Regions from separate parts of the Homo sapiens genome. Here region 1 is linked to region 2. The links are contacts of gene promoters, found by promoter capture Hi-C in human tissues and cell types (Jung and others, 2019). All regions are on one chromosome and are shown on one strand. Each heading gives the region's core, a stretch centred on a gene start or on the middle of the fragment in contact. The rest is flanking DNA. Distances are from core to core; before and after follow the strand shown. Region 1 has its middle 72 kb from the start of SPATA8-AS1. Region 2 holds the start of SPATA8 (spermatogenesis associated 8).

The links. Contacts are between HindIII fragments. The study calls those that stand out against the background at their distance.
Region 1: a contact is called between a fragment that was not itself captured here and the fragment with the promoter of SPATA8 in region 2, in 3 of the 25 tissues and cell types used here (dorsolateral prefrontal cortex, spleen and thymus).

The regions. Positions count from the first base shown.
Region 1 is chr15:96,708,246-96,715,210 of GRCh38, reverse strand. No RefSeq gene overlaps it. Among named protein-coding and RNA genes, the nearest start is that of SPATA8-AS1, 72 kb to the left of the region's middle. The HindIII fragment of the contact is 3,131 bases long and covers 1,130-4,260 here.
Region 2 is chr15:96,780,219-96,786,880 of GRCh38, reverse strand. SPATA8 (spermatogenesis associated 8) reads right to left here and starts at 3,446. Exons shown (of 3, transcript NR_158223.1): 1 at 3,292-3,446; 2 at 2,622-2,728; 3 at 1,266-1,885. It overlaps SPATA8-AS1 (SPATA8 antisense RNA 1), which reads left to right and starts at 3,544. Exons shown (of 4, transcript NR_102753.1): 1 at 3,544-3,705; 2 at 5,779-5,880. The HindIII fragment of the contact is 9,916 bases long and covers 902-6,662 here.

The DNA of each region.
Region 1 (6,965 bases), core at 1,446-3,945, 71 kb after region 2:
AAGTCATGTATTTCTGTCTAACCATGATGAAATTGAGCTAAAGATTGTTCAGGCTCCTGCTATGGTGATGGTGGCAGACAATTTCATTTACTTTGTTTTTTTTTAAAGTAGCTTATCATTTTGCTAATCAACACATTTGGGGAAAACAGGAATCACTACATAATCCTGGTGTAGAAATTTGCTTTATGAAATTTTTCTCATGGAGGGAAACATGGCAGAGTTTAAGAACAAGTACTTCAGCACGTAACTCAAAGGTCCCTCTTCAGGGTCTCGATTTTGCCAGCCATGGGTTTACAATAAGTTGCTGTGATGAAACAGACACCGTGGTTTAACTACCACCTTCAACAAAGGGAAATGCATGGATATGACTTTTTCTTGGTCTCCCTATTTTTCTCCTCTTGCTCAAGCCTTCAATAATTCCCATGTCAATTATTTTTTATCGTGAAACTCGGTTGAGCTTATGAAATAAAGTGAGAAAGGTGAAACTGTGTTCCAAGAGTTTTCTTAAAATGTATTAGAAAACCATTCTTAGCTGGGCCATCTAATCACACCCACGTGCATTCTCTTTTTAATTAAGCAAGTTAACTTATTTGGCATTTATGTTTTATGCATGAGAACTCCTAGCTTTCAGATTACTTCATTTTCAGGCCATGTAATTCAAAAGCAGAAAGATCCATAGAAACATCTTTATCCAGGTTGTGTTAGACAATATCTTTGCCAGAAGAGAAAACACACACATGCCCAAAGGATCTGCCCAAATTAATCAAGACCGAGATTTTGCATTTCTGTGAGTTTTGATCAAGGAAGCCCTGATGTTTCATTAAGGGAGAGACATTTTATTAACTAAATTTCTTCTATAAACCCAGATGTCAAAATAATGTGGACAGATACTTAACCATAAATGATTAACATTGGGACAGAAATATCTATTTTTACAATTTATATATACTTTTGTTTTAGTTTTATTTATTAATATATATTTTAGATGCCTGCTCCGTGCCAGGCACTATGCTAAGTGGTTGGGGAAAGTGAAGATAAGTGAAGCTTAGTTTTTCATCTCAGGAAATTACAGAGGAAACTGACATAAGCCCAGCTGAATCTATGGCAATGTCAAATAAGGCAGCATGGGAGAGGTAGAAACCAAGGTGCATGGCCTTCTAAATGGATTTATTGCTCAGGTTGCGAGGTAGTTGAAATAGTGGTTACAAGAAAAGCTTTAGGGTCAGATTGTCTGAATTTAAATCTCAGCTCCACCAGTTACTAGATGGGTAACTAGGAAACTGAAGTTTCCTAGTCTGGACAGATACTTAACCTACATGATTAACATTGGGAAACTGAAGTTTCCTAATCTGGACAGACGCTTAAACATACATGATTAACATTGGGAAACTGAAGTTTCCTAGTCTGTGAATGGGAGTTGCAAATAGTTTCCACCCTTCTCCAACCACTTACCATAGTGCCTGTCACTGAGCAGGCATCTAAATATATATGAATAAATAAAACTACAATAGAAGTGTATGTAAATTATAAAAATAGGTATTTCTTACTCAATAATGTGTGGTTAAGTGTCTTTCCACGTTATTTTGATGTCTGGGTTTATAGAAGAAATGTAGTTAATAAAAAGTGTCTCCCTTAATGAAATGTGGGGGTTTCCTTGTCCAAAACTCATAGAAATGCAAAAATGAAGCTTCACTTATCTTCACCTTTTCCAGTCACTTAGCATAGTGCCCAGCACTGAGTAGGCATCCGAAATATATATGAATAAATAAAACTACAATAAAGGCATATAAAAGAGTAGAGTATGGATAAGAGTGGGGGGTGGTAATATTGGCTCTACTTTATGAGACCTACTTAAGATCAGAAAAAAAAGTAAGCAACTCTCCCCAAATGAAAGGGGAAATAAGAAAAAATAGAGTTCTATATATACCAATAAAAGCACTATCAATTTTAGCGTAGAGAAAAAAATCTGGATTTGATGGCGTGGTATTCTGCAGTGCTATTAATTATTTCATTCAAAGTTGTGAACATTATAGTATCATGAAAAAGGCTGCAGATATGTAATGAAGTATGAAGTTTCTTCTGTATATCATACAATTTCATTTTGGTGTTGAGCATTTGTGAAGTCGGTGCTCTCAGAAAGCGGGAGTGTATTATTCACTTGCTAAAACAGAACTGTAAATTCATTAAAGCTTTCTAAGTAGAGTAAAGGTTATGCGACAGAAATATGTCATTTATTTATAAAATATTTAGATAAAGTAGTCGTTAAATCTTAACTCTTTGGTGTAATTGGTTTATTAAATGTATCTAATTTGATTTTGATTTATAAAGATGAGCCCTAACAATTTACACTAGACTAATGAAAAACAGCAAAGTAGGTCTTTTTTGAATAACACTTTACTATTCATAGTGAGAGACTCCCCTAGTCTTTTGTAAAAACTTTTCCTGGTGTGATTTTATATTTTAGGAGGTTTCACCATATCAAGTGAGGCTGTTTTTACAAAGCATCAGTGAAACAATTTAGAGCAACAAAAAGAAGTCTGATTTTTTTTAATTTAAGTATTCAGAGTACACTGTCAATGTACCATTTCTCCCTCTTTCCCACAAAGCACAAAATTTATGTCACTTGATTTCACCAAATATTCTTTTCATCTAATCATTTCAATGATCCTCGGTACCTCTGTTAAGCATCAATGCATTTTGCATTACTTACTGTCAATAGCAAATCTAAGGTATTCTAAACTTAATTTTAGGTTCGGTCTCTTTTAGTAACAGGGAATAAACATTGCTGCACTATTGTCAGGTGTTAATGCAAATAATAGAAGCCTTGGTGTATCCACTGACAACCCATGAATACTCTGGTCAGCTTGATTAACATTGATTCACCGTATACATGGGTTGTTAGAAAATCTATGTTGTATGTGGTCAGTAACAATATAATTACTTACTGTAAGCGTGTCCAGAGATCTGCTCTATATTTCATTATTATTACCACAGCTTATTCACATGAAATGATGGTAGATCTTCAAGTCCACAGTCTTTGACCACAGACCCAAGCAGGTGTTTGTTTAATACTTTGGTCAAAGATCAGTGAGTTAAAGGTTAGGCCAGGGAGAGTGAGAATAGAGGGGTCATCGCACTTGCAGGAGGGGGGTGAGACTTGATCTTCTTGGGTCTGGAACGGTCGAACCCCAAGGTCACCCATTAGTGATCCTGCCTTTAAGGACTGTGAGATGTCAACAATAAATTCACCATGCCAGAACCTTTAACCCTCTTAATGCTGTGAACACCAGGAGCCAAGGCCAAAACCCAGAAGCAATGGACCCAGGGAGAATTATTCACACAATTGTCTGAGGGATGTGGCATTTATGTCCTTTAGGCTTGCCTCTGTTAGAGCAGACAGCTAAGAAAAAATGTTAATGTTGGTTGATGTTCAAACTTTCCAGACAAACAATACACCCATGCATGGGGTGTAGACGTTATACAAATATGGTGCAAATAGCATTGTTGAATTGTCACACTGTCATTCTGCAAGGAGTGTATCCAAGTAACAGAGATTCTTAATGTAAGATTTGTTCCCTCCCCACGTTTAGAAATAATCAATTCATTAAAGATAATGGAATTAACACGTGATGTTAGAATATTTCTTTCTCAGTAAATGCAGAATTAACATGGGGAAGACAACACATTTTAAGAAAGCCTAATGCTAAGATCTCAAACATAATTTTGCTTAACATACAAATCATTCCATCAATTAGTCAACTCCAAATGTATTGTCAAGATTCACGTAGTGTGGGCAAAGAGAGCTTACTGTGCTTCTGTGAACATTGTTAAAGTGAGTGTGGAAGCATCCACCAAGTGGTAGCTGTGTCATACAATGAAACCTTCTGGGACCAATGAGCATTTATAAGTATCTTCTGCATGTGTTATAATTATTTCTAAAATTCATTTATCAAATATGTTACCCTACGCTTTTCTAAGTCAGCCCCCTCCCTATAGCTATCTAGACTGAATATGCTCGGATTTAAATTAGCTATGAACATCCTGTTGATACTAACCCAGCTTTTTTAACACTTAAAATGGCTATTCCATCCTCAAACACAGAATTAAGCTCAACCCACTGTTGGGAAGCAGGTTTTCTTTAATATGCCATTAGCAGGACTGTGGGACTGTGGTATTAGCATTTATTAAGTCCAGTATCTTTCTTGAACAGGCGTCCCAATTTAGATGATAAATTACGTGGCCACTCTACCTAAAAGTATGCTTGAGTACATCATGGTGTAAAAGCAGTGGCATACAGGCTAAGTGCTGGCTGGCTCGATACAAAGAGGGCAGAGATTCTGCCACGGACCTAAGGAATTTACAGTATAGTATATGGCAGAGATGGGACCTACCCCAAGTCAGAATGTTCCGAATGTAAAGTGCTTTAGAGAGAAAAGAGAAATTAATCCCAATCAGGGTAATTCACCAAGGAGCTGGAGCAGTAAAAAGAAAGTAGGGCTTAGAAGGAAGCACATTGATTGGACTGCAATACAAGGTATGTGAAGGAGAGGGAGATGTGCCAGGTCACCAAGACTGGGCTATGTCGTGGGAACTCCAAACATTGATTAAGGTATTTAGACCTGTGCTATAAGGAACTGGGAGTCTAAGAGTCAGATATCTGTTTCAGGGAGATATTGCTTTCAAATATATATGTATTTGAGAAGGAACTATTAGAGAATGTTTAGGAGGCTACTGTCCAGGCTAGGGAGAGAAGCCAAAGGCATTTATTTAGCAGTTTTACAGTACTAGGTTTGTCAAATATGCTATCTCATTTAATATTCAGAACAAGTTTATGAGGCAGGTATCATCATCATCATCATCATCATCGTTATTATTCCTGTAATTCTTTTACAAATAGACAAACAGTATTAAGGAGATTAAGTTACTTGCCTGGGTTCATAGTCAACCAGTGCAGAACCTAAGTTTGAATCCATTTCTGCTATGATTCCAAAACGCTTGCACATTCTGGTATAACATTGCACTCTCTCTCTGGAACATAGGTAGAACTTAGCGCCAGCACACATTTTGAGGTATCTAAATAGAATCCCTGTTTCATTATTTCAGGCAAACACTACATAACACATCTGTTTTGTGCTCTATCAAATTCAATAGAAGAAATGTACGATTTCTTTTTGAGGAAATAAAGTTTACTTAGCCCCTATAAGGAGGCTTCAGAAAAATAGCAGAGCACAATCACTTGATTTTATGGGATATTTGAATTCAACGTGCTTCTGAACAAAACTTCACAAATCACGGGTATATGCAAGATCTCTGGTGAGCCCAAGGAAGTAAATGAACCAAAAGTTCTGGGATGAGGTATGAAAACACATGAAGGTCAAAGTTTTTTAAAATGGCAACTTTCAGACTCAATAGTTAATTCCTTCTTTCTTGTCTTCATTTCCATTACATGAATCAAACAAAAAACTGATAAGATTTTGAAGCAACAACAACAAAATTCAATGTATCTGATACGGCAACCTGAACAGAACGGAAAAGAAAAACAAGAAAACCTTTCATCTAAGCACATTTAGAGCCATGAACTTAACAACCAATGGCTTCTTCAAGAAAACTGGGAGGCATTCATTTCTATGTATTTCTGTCTAGGGGCATAGAGCGAAAGGGAAAAAGAGTAGGACACTTTGGGGTACTCTGGCCTCTTGTGAAAATTTAATGGACATTTCAAAAATGACCCAGAAAGGTAATCAATTAGAGCCCAGCTCCTGGTTAGGTTGGAGAATATTTAGCTCGTCTTACAAATGGGCTGCCCGTTCTCAGGCATACGGTGAGTGATGCTGGACGCACCTGTTTATTTTGCTCTGATTACACAAGAGTATATTTTGGGTTGGAATCATTAGCTCCAACAAATGAAATTCCTATTTTTATTCAAGTAAACATAGAAATGTTTAAATGATTCTGCAAATTGAGGACATGCACCAAAGACAACAAAATTATGACAACAAATTATGTAAACTTTTTAAAAAATCTTGTTATATTTTTCCCTGAAACTAGAACATCTACAATATGTTTCCATTTTGGTAATGTGTGCATTGTTGTTGCTTTTTTTCCCCGAACTTCCAACATCCTTTGCAAATAACACATTTTTTTCTAAAAATAAGAAATGGCTCTAAAACGTAGAGGAAAAATATGCTTGTCTAACCGTAATTTTTTTAGAGAAAAAAAACCCAAGCTGCTTTAAAAACTGAAAGACAAAGAAAGTATATTTCACTATAAATTATTCATTGCACTCATTTTGGATCAATATTTATAGATATTCACAGGCTTTTTATAAAGCTTGGGAGATTCTTTTAAATGTCATAATTTCCTTCTCAAAGCCAATGTCAGAAGCACAGCTTAGCGCTGACAATAAATGAACACTTGAGGTGCATGCCCTATTTTTTCCATCCTTTAGCATCAGGGCAGCTTGAAACACTGTGGGTTTCTGCCACCATTCTACCAAAACACTCCATTACTGACCTACTACATTCTGCCAAGTGGTTGCATTTTATAGGAACAAATAAACAAAGACACTGGTCATCTCTTCCCATTGAATGAGAACAGAGATGTGGCCACTATGATGACTCTCCATTGAGGAATTTGGGGCAATGATTTTTGCATTCAATCCCATCAACTCACATTAAGTGAGCAATAAAGGTTCCTAGAAAATATGGGTTGGGGGAGACCTGGTAACATCTCACAGCTTTCTGGAGAATGGCTTCTTGCCTATGGTCTGCTGGGGACAAGCCTGAAGATGAGGCTTAGAAGATAGAGGGGTGTAAATCAGAGAATGTCCTGCCAATCAAATATTACCTGCTTCACTCCTTTGATGCCCCCAAGAATTCAGATTTCTCTACCATGAAAAAAATATCAGCACCCACAGGGCTGTCTTCTCAGGCCCTCTACCAGGAGCATTGTTACAGTGAGAGAAA
Region 2 (6,662 bases), core at 2,197-4,696:
AACACATCTGCAAAATACCCTCTTGGCAACATGTAGATCCACGTTCAATTGAATAACTAGGTAATATAGTCTAGCCCAAATGACACATAAAGCTAATCATTCCTACAAGAAAGGGAAGACTTGAGCTGGACCTGAAGGATAATTAGGAGACAAAACAAGGACTGGCATGGCAGTGAGCAGGAGCAGTGGAGAGTCCCAGGCGGCTTGCAGCTTGTAAGGCATTTCGTCATATGCAAGTTTGAGAAAGGGCAATCTGGGGAAAGTGTGGAGAGTGATGGGGGAGTAGGTTTAGAAGGCTACAGAAGAGCTGTTAGTCTCAGTCCAAACACTGACAGTGAGAATAGAGAAGAGGGATACAACAGGGAAGATACGGAGATATGGAAGACACAGACTCCACAGGCCTCAGTGGCCCTCCATGTCAGTTACTGCTCATTGATCTCTATGTTGTTTTTGTCTCTCCCTGGTCTTGATGTTGACATCTTTTTCAACATCATACTCTGTTTAGCCATCACCATTGTAAAGAATCTCTAGTGGGAGAGGCAACAGAGTAGCAACATTGTGGCCACAGTTGTGTAGAGTGCATTGAATCCAGCACACTGGCACATACAAGCTTAAACCACACACTTGTGTGCATGTCCCTGCACCAGGATACAGACACACAGAATTTTTGACTGCAGAAGCTAATTCACTCACATTTTTTATCTTACCAGGAAACTTGTCAGTTGGAGATTCAGAAAGAGATTTTAAGATATTAGCTTTTGAATCTGTAACTAGAAACCTGGCCCATATATCTCTGTGAACAAAATGGAAATGGAATAGTAGAGCCTAAAGGTGAATAGAGACAGTAGGTGGATAAATATTTCAAATCTCAGTTCTATTCCCACAACAATTCCTAGAGTCTTACCTAGGCAGAGAATGAAATCCCTCTTGGATCACAGTATGATGAAATGTCTCTTTTTCCAGTGTTGTTGCAACAACTACCACTCATGATAGGTTGCTTCAAGGTCTATAATAGTCCCTGAATCTGAAATTCATGAAGTGCCCTCAAGATCAGCCTTGTGTGTGCTGAGTCTTAACTCTGCCCCAGTAGGCACACTGGTCCTTAAATCCCCTTCTGAACACACGCATGCCTGTCTCATGGCCCTCATCCCCCTCATTTTTCTCCCTGAGCATGCCAGGATGGCCCCCAAGCTTGCTTTCAGCTGCTTTTAGTTCTAATTTCAGAAAAAAAACAAACAAACAAAAAAAAAAAAAACCAAACAGTATCCTGTATACAGCATTTGAAATTATTTTATTCAGAAAAGTTCATGCTGGGCATGTATGCCAAGCTCCGAGCTAAGCTCCAAGGATCCAGAAATATATGAGAAACAGTGTCTTGCCCTATAGGAGCTCTGGAGAAAGAGAAATGGAGACAATGAAGAGAATCTAGCCTTGGCCTTGAATAGGGAAACGAAAGGCAATACTGGGGTTTGGCCTTGAGTAGACATCCAGAATACACCATTCCAGGACTAGCATAACATACTAGGCTGCTGAGGATGGTCTCTCTTGGAGGTAGTTCAGAAGTGGGAGAGGGAGCTGTGGCACTGGTAGGACAGAAACTTCAAAGACCAGGTGGTGGCGTCTGATATAGAGCCAGCTGATTGCCCTTTCCAGGTGAGTTCCAGGTGGTAAGGGAAAAGGGAAAAGAGACCAGTTCCCTGGGCTGTTAGCTAACTCCATGATGACCAATGGAAGAGCTTCAGGGTAGGGACACTATTGAAAAATCAGGACCAGCAATATGGGTGAAACAGGACACTTCTCCTGTTTATCTTCTGAATCAGTGGGGAAGCAGATGGCACCCTTCGCCTTTGAACCCTTTGGATCCTTCCGTGAGAACAGCTGTTCTCTGTAAACAAAGAAAAAGAGGATAATTAGAGGCAGAATGGCACACAGAGAAAGACATCCCAGATGATGGAGAGGAAAACAGAGAGAATGGGTGAGAAGGAGAACAGTGCTCCCTAAACGTTCTCTCTTCGTATACACAGAGGAAAGGTTATCTGGAGAACACATTTGGGTACGTGAGTGATTGTCCAAGGCCCATCCAGCCACTCTGGGGACAGCATGCATCGCTGTTGGCACAAACCCATAACCCATGCTGACCGAGAAGCTGCAGAATGATGCTGCCATTCCAAAGGGACAACAGGAGAGAAGTTGTGATCAAAGGCAAAAATAGAGACAAAGGACAGGAGCCTACCTAGGATAAGAAAGGCCAGAGTGAGCTTGGAGAGGGCAGAGGCTGAAGGAAGGGAGGAGGCTCAGTAGTGGGCAGCTGACTATGCCTTGAGCTATCACCGAAGAGACTCGTCTGGTTTACACTTCTTAAAGGAGAATACGCACCATCTCAGGAAAAGGGAGCAATGAGTAAATATGCACGAGCAGCACTTGGGAGTGAGGAAGGGGGCAGCCAAGGCACTGGAGAGGCTGAACTCTGGATCTCCTAACAAATGAATGGGGTCCTCCGTCTCATCCCTCCCACCATCCCCGGCAGCACCCATCCAGGTTCAGGAAATGGAGAAGGGAGGAAGTCAAGAAACTGGAGTGTTGGCTTTTGAGGCACAGACTCAGCCCTGCCACCTACTTACCTTCCTTTGCAGGCCACACCGGGCCCTTGAGGCCTCCTGGGCCACCCTTGAAAGGCCTCCAGCCGCAGGGACATGTCATGGCTTCTGAGAAATGTCGCGACGAGGTTCTGCAGAAGAGAACACAGGGGTGTCAGGATGTCCCCTCAGCATCAGGAGCCCACATTGAGTGAGAGCCTCATAGAGTTGGATTTTGGGAAAAGCTCATCTCCGGCTTGAGTGGGAGGTGCCTCAGGGCTGGGATCTCTTCATGCCATTTGGGGAATCTAGGGTGTTTTCAGCTCCTTTCGCCAACCCTTCCAGCCTCCCCAAGTGCACAGGGGCTGCTCCTCTTGCCCTTACCACCTGCCTCTCATGCCTGGCCCCAGCCACCGGTCTGAAGGGGCTCTGACAATTCACATTAAGAGAATTAGGAATGCTGCAATTTCATACCTGTCTTCCCACAAAGAAATGGTAGCCTAATAGGAGTCAGACCTACATCTGGAGTTGAAAACTGCCAAGGGCAGGACATCAGATACCTAGGACAAGGCAGCCTCTGAAAAGAGGGGGCAATTTCCTGGTAGAGACAGGAGTTGTCCTGGGCCCCTGACATCCCAGCCGGGGCCATTCCTCATGCCCTTCCTTCCCCGAGGCCCAGGCTGCCACTAAAGACAATTATCCCAGAAAGACACACAAGTGGATCCCTGGGCTTAGCGGAGATGGAGCAGCCTGGTCTGAACAAGATGCATGGGCTGGCCTTTTAGACGCCCCTTCTTCAGGAGAGTCCTGCACTCAGGAACTACATGGGAGAAGTGAAGTGGGTGCTCCAAAGAGCAACTGCCAGCACATGCTCGGAACCCTGTGGGCTGCCCCAGAAGCCCCAACGGACGCAACTGCCACTGGGCGGGTGGGGGAGGGGTGGCAGCTTGGGCAGCCAAGGGGCCCCGTCTCCTACAAACCTCCTGCACACCTGGGGAAGGCAGCAGCTCTGGGGTCTGCAGGGGGGCACCTCATGGTTCCCAACTCTCCTAGAAGCAAAAAGGGATTCAAAGAGGCCCACTTGATAACCTGTCAGGCTGCATAGCAGTGAGGCTTCCTCCTTTAGTAGGTTCTTGAAATTGTATATCTATATACAAATAGATAAATATACATATACAATATACAGGGTGGCTGCAGGTTTGCTACAACAAGGCAGTGGGTGAAGGTGACGGGTGTGCAGTTGTGGACTCTGGAACCCCCCAAGGGGCTCCCCTGCTGGATGCAGAGCTGGAGCCTTTGGGCGGCTGACCAAGACAAAAGGGAAGAGGGATGAGACAGAAAGCAGGGCCGCAAGGATGCAAGGCCTTGTCTACTAAGTCCTGCTGTCCCATGTAGGCCATCACCCCTGACCTATCTGAGCCTCAGTTTCTCTGAAAGGAAAATGGGTCATCAAGAGACAAATACACAAGAGGAAAGGAGAAATCATGAGGGCAAAATGTCCAGGGTGAATGGAGGGAAGGAAAAAGTTACGGAGATCAAGTAGAACCACAGACAGGAGAGAGCCTTTGGCGAGACAGGGGCAGAGAGGTAAAAGAGAGGGGAAGTGATGGGAAGCCAAGAAGAATTGGGTGGCAAGGAGGAGGAAGCTGAGAGTGGAATGGTAGAGACCTGGGGGAGGTAGAATCAGGAACCAGGGCTGAAATGCAGAAGAAACAGCTTACTGGACCAGTCAGGGTTGGCTGGGTGGACCTGGGATGTGCAAGGTATTTTCTCGTTCCAGTCAGAGGCAGGAGACAGGGAGTGAAGGGCGCCAGCTAAGGCAGGACAGGAGGAGGACAGAAAGCCCAAAGTGTCCTTCTCCTGTCCCCTCATCCTCTCTCTCTCCAGCCCTCCCAAAAGCCTTGCCCCAGAAACAAGGGAATGGAACCCAGGAAGGTGAAGTAGACGGATGGGGTCTGGGCATCCTTTCCAGAGAGAAATGATAGCTTAACAGTGATCAGCTGAATGGCCAGGAAACACCCCCATAATGGTGGAGGGCTGAGCATCCAGTACTGTAGCCTAGGGGAAGGGGACAGGCTTGAGATCTTCCCAGACTCCTCAGACTCTAGCCGAGGTCTCCTGTCCATGGAAGCTCAGGTGTGAGGGAGACTCAGAAATGGCTCCCAGGTGGAGAAGATCGGGCTGCCTCCTCTGGGGAGGTGCTTGAAGCCTTGTGGGTACAGCACAGAATAGCCAGGAGAGGGGGGTGCCAAGGCATGCCCACCTCCACAAGAGCCCCCGTGAGGCTGCTCCCAAAACCCTAGCAGGAGCACCTCCACTTTTCCTTCCTCCAACCCCCGGGGGTGGGGGAACTCCCTTTGGACCCAGAGAAGCCCTCACATAGTCCTCCTGCTGGCCAGCTCTGCTATCTCAGGGCCCAGTGCCCTGGGAGAAGATGAAGGCCATCACTGCAGATGAAAACCAGAATCAGACATCTGGGGAAGAAGTGTGATCCCAAGGAAGGAAATAAATGGCTCCCAACGTTGCTCAGTGCTCCCCTACTAAGCAGGAGATGGATGTAGGATTTCTCTTCAGGCAGGGCTCTGGAGCATCTAACTGTGGTGTTGCTGTTGGATCATGTTCACACATGTAGAGAGCCTGCAGAAAAGGATTTTGTGGGGAAGGTCCATTAAAACCTTTCTAGGTAAATCAGAGTTCAACAGACCCAAATGCCAGGCATCCTGGCATCCTGGCCAGGACACCACACCACTCACTTCCCTTTGCATTTCCCTATTGTCACTCTCGTCTGATATTTGTTCAGGAATTCACCCATCTGTAAGCTCATTGCTTTATCAAATATTTGTTGAGCTTTGCTGGGCAGAGGGGATACAAAAATGAATGAGACAAAGTTCCTGCATTCAAGTACCTTGCTGGGCAGTGAGAAAGGGCAGACTGACATGCTGAGAATGAAGAGAGAAATACAGGATGCAGGCGGATGGCTCAGGTAGACATACCCTTTAGTCCCTGCTCTCATGGGTAAATACAGCTACTGGGAGAAAGTTAACATCAAAAAATCCTCCAGGGGAGTCAATGATAATATTTGTTGCCTCTCACCAGGCAGATAGAAAGTTGGAAACCAGAAAGTTCTTTGCCTACTTGGGAATGTATAGTTTAAAACCAAAACATACTCACACCTATTAATCGGGGTCCTTCCCTTGAGCAGCACCGATGTCGGGGAAAAGAAAACTACCTGGCAAGTTAGGATACAGCAGGAACGGTCTCCAAGACAGCCATTGAAAATGCTCCCAAATGCTGGAGACCTCAGGTTTGAAGGGGTTCTGATGGCCATATGGACTTATAAGGGACATGGTTCAGAGGTTTCCTCAGACCAGCACAGGACTTGGGGAGGGGGAGCAGGGAAGCCCCCAGGATCCAGATTTTTGGGATGTCAGTGCTACAAGGGCTGGGCTTGTGGCTGGAAGCTGTGTCCTTGGTGTCCCCATTTGAAGGGCAGAGGCCCAGGGGCAGGTCCCAAGAAGATGGGGACAGCCCAGATGATGGTCAATGGAGTCTTGGCTGGCGGGGGAGGCGGTTCCTGGAGGGGGCCGCGAAGAGGTGGAGTGACACTGGAGTATCACCAAGGTGGTGCTTCCTTGCCACCAGAAAGCCAGGCCTGGGGAGGAGAAAGGAGGAAGATGACTCAGCTGGAGTGACAGCCCCCCTGCTCCCTGCTGCCCCTGTATTGGGCTATCACTGCTGGGGAGTGCATCCAAACAGAGGGCTATTTGATCAGTCTTAAATACCCACAGGACTCCCAACTCAGGAGAGACAGATGGGCAGAAACAGAAAAGTAAATGCTGAGATTATATCTGAAGAAAGAGAGAGAGCATAGCAAGAGCAAAGAAAAGAGTCAGGATGAAAAACCTCATTGTGTCAAGAAAAGAAGGAAGGAGAGGAGAGGAAGAACACAGTGTCCCTTAGGAAACCAGAGTCAGAGTGAGGTCAGGACAAGGCTAACAGCGCAGGAAGAGGTGACTGGCTGGACCTCACCCAAAGAGGATTGAGCCTGAAGGCTTCAGGGATGTGGTCTGTGCTTCCTCCCTCTGC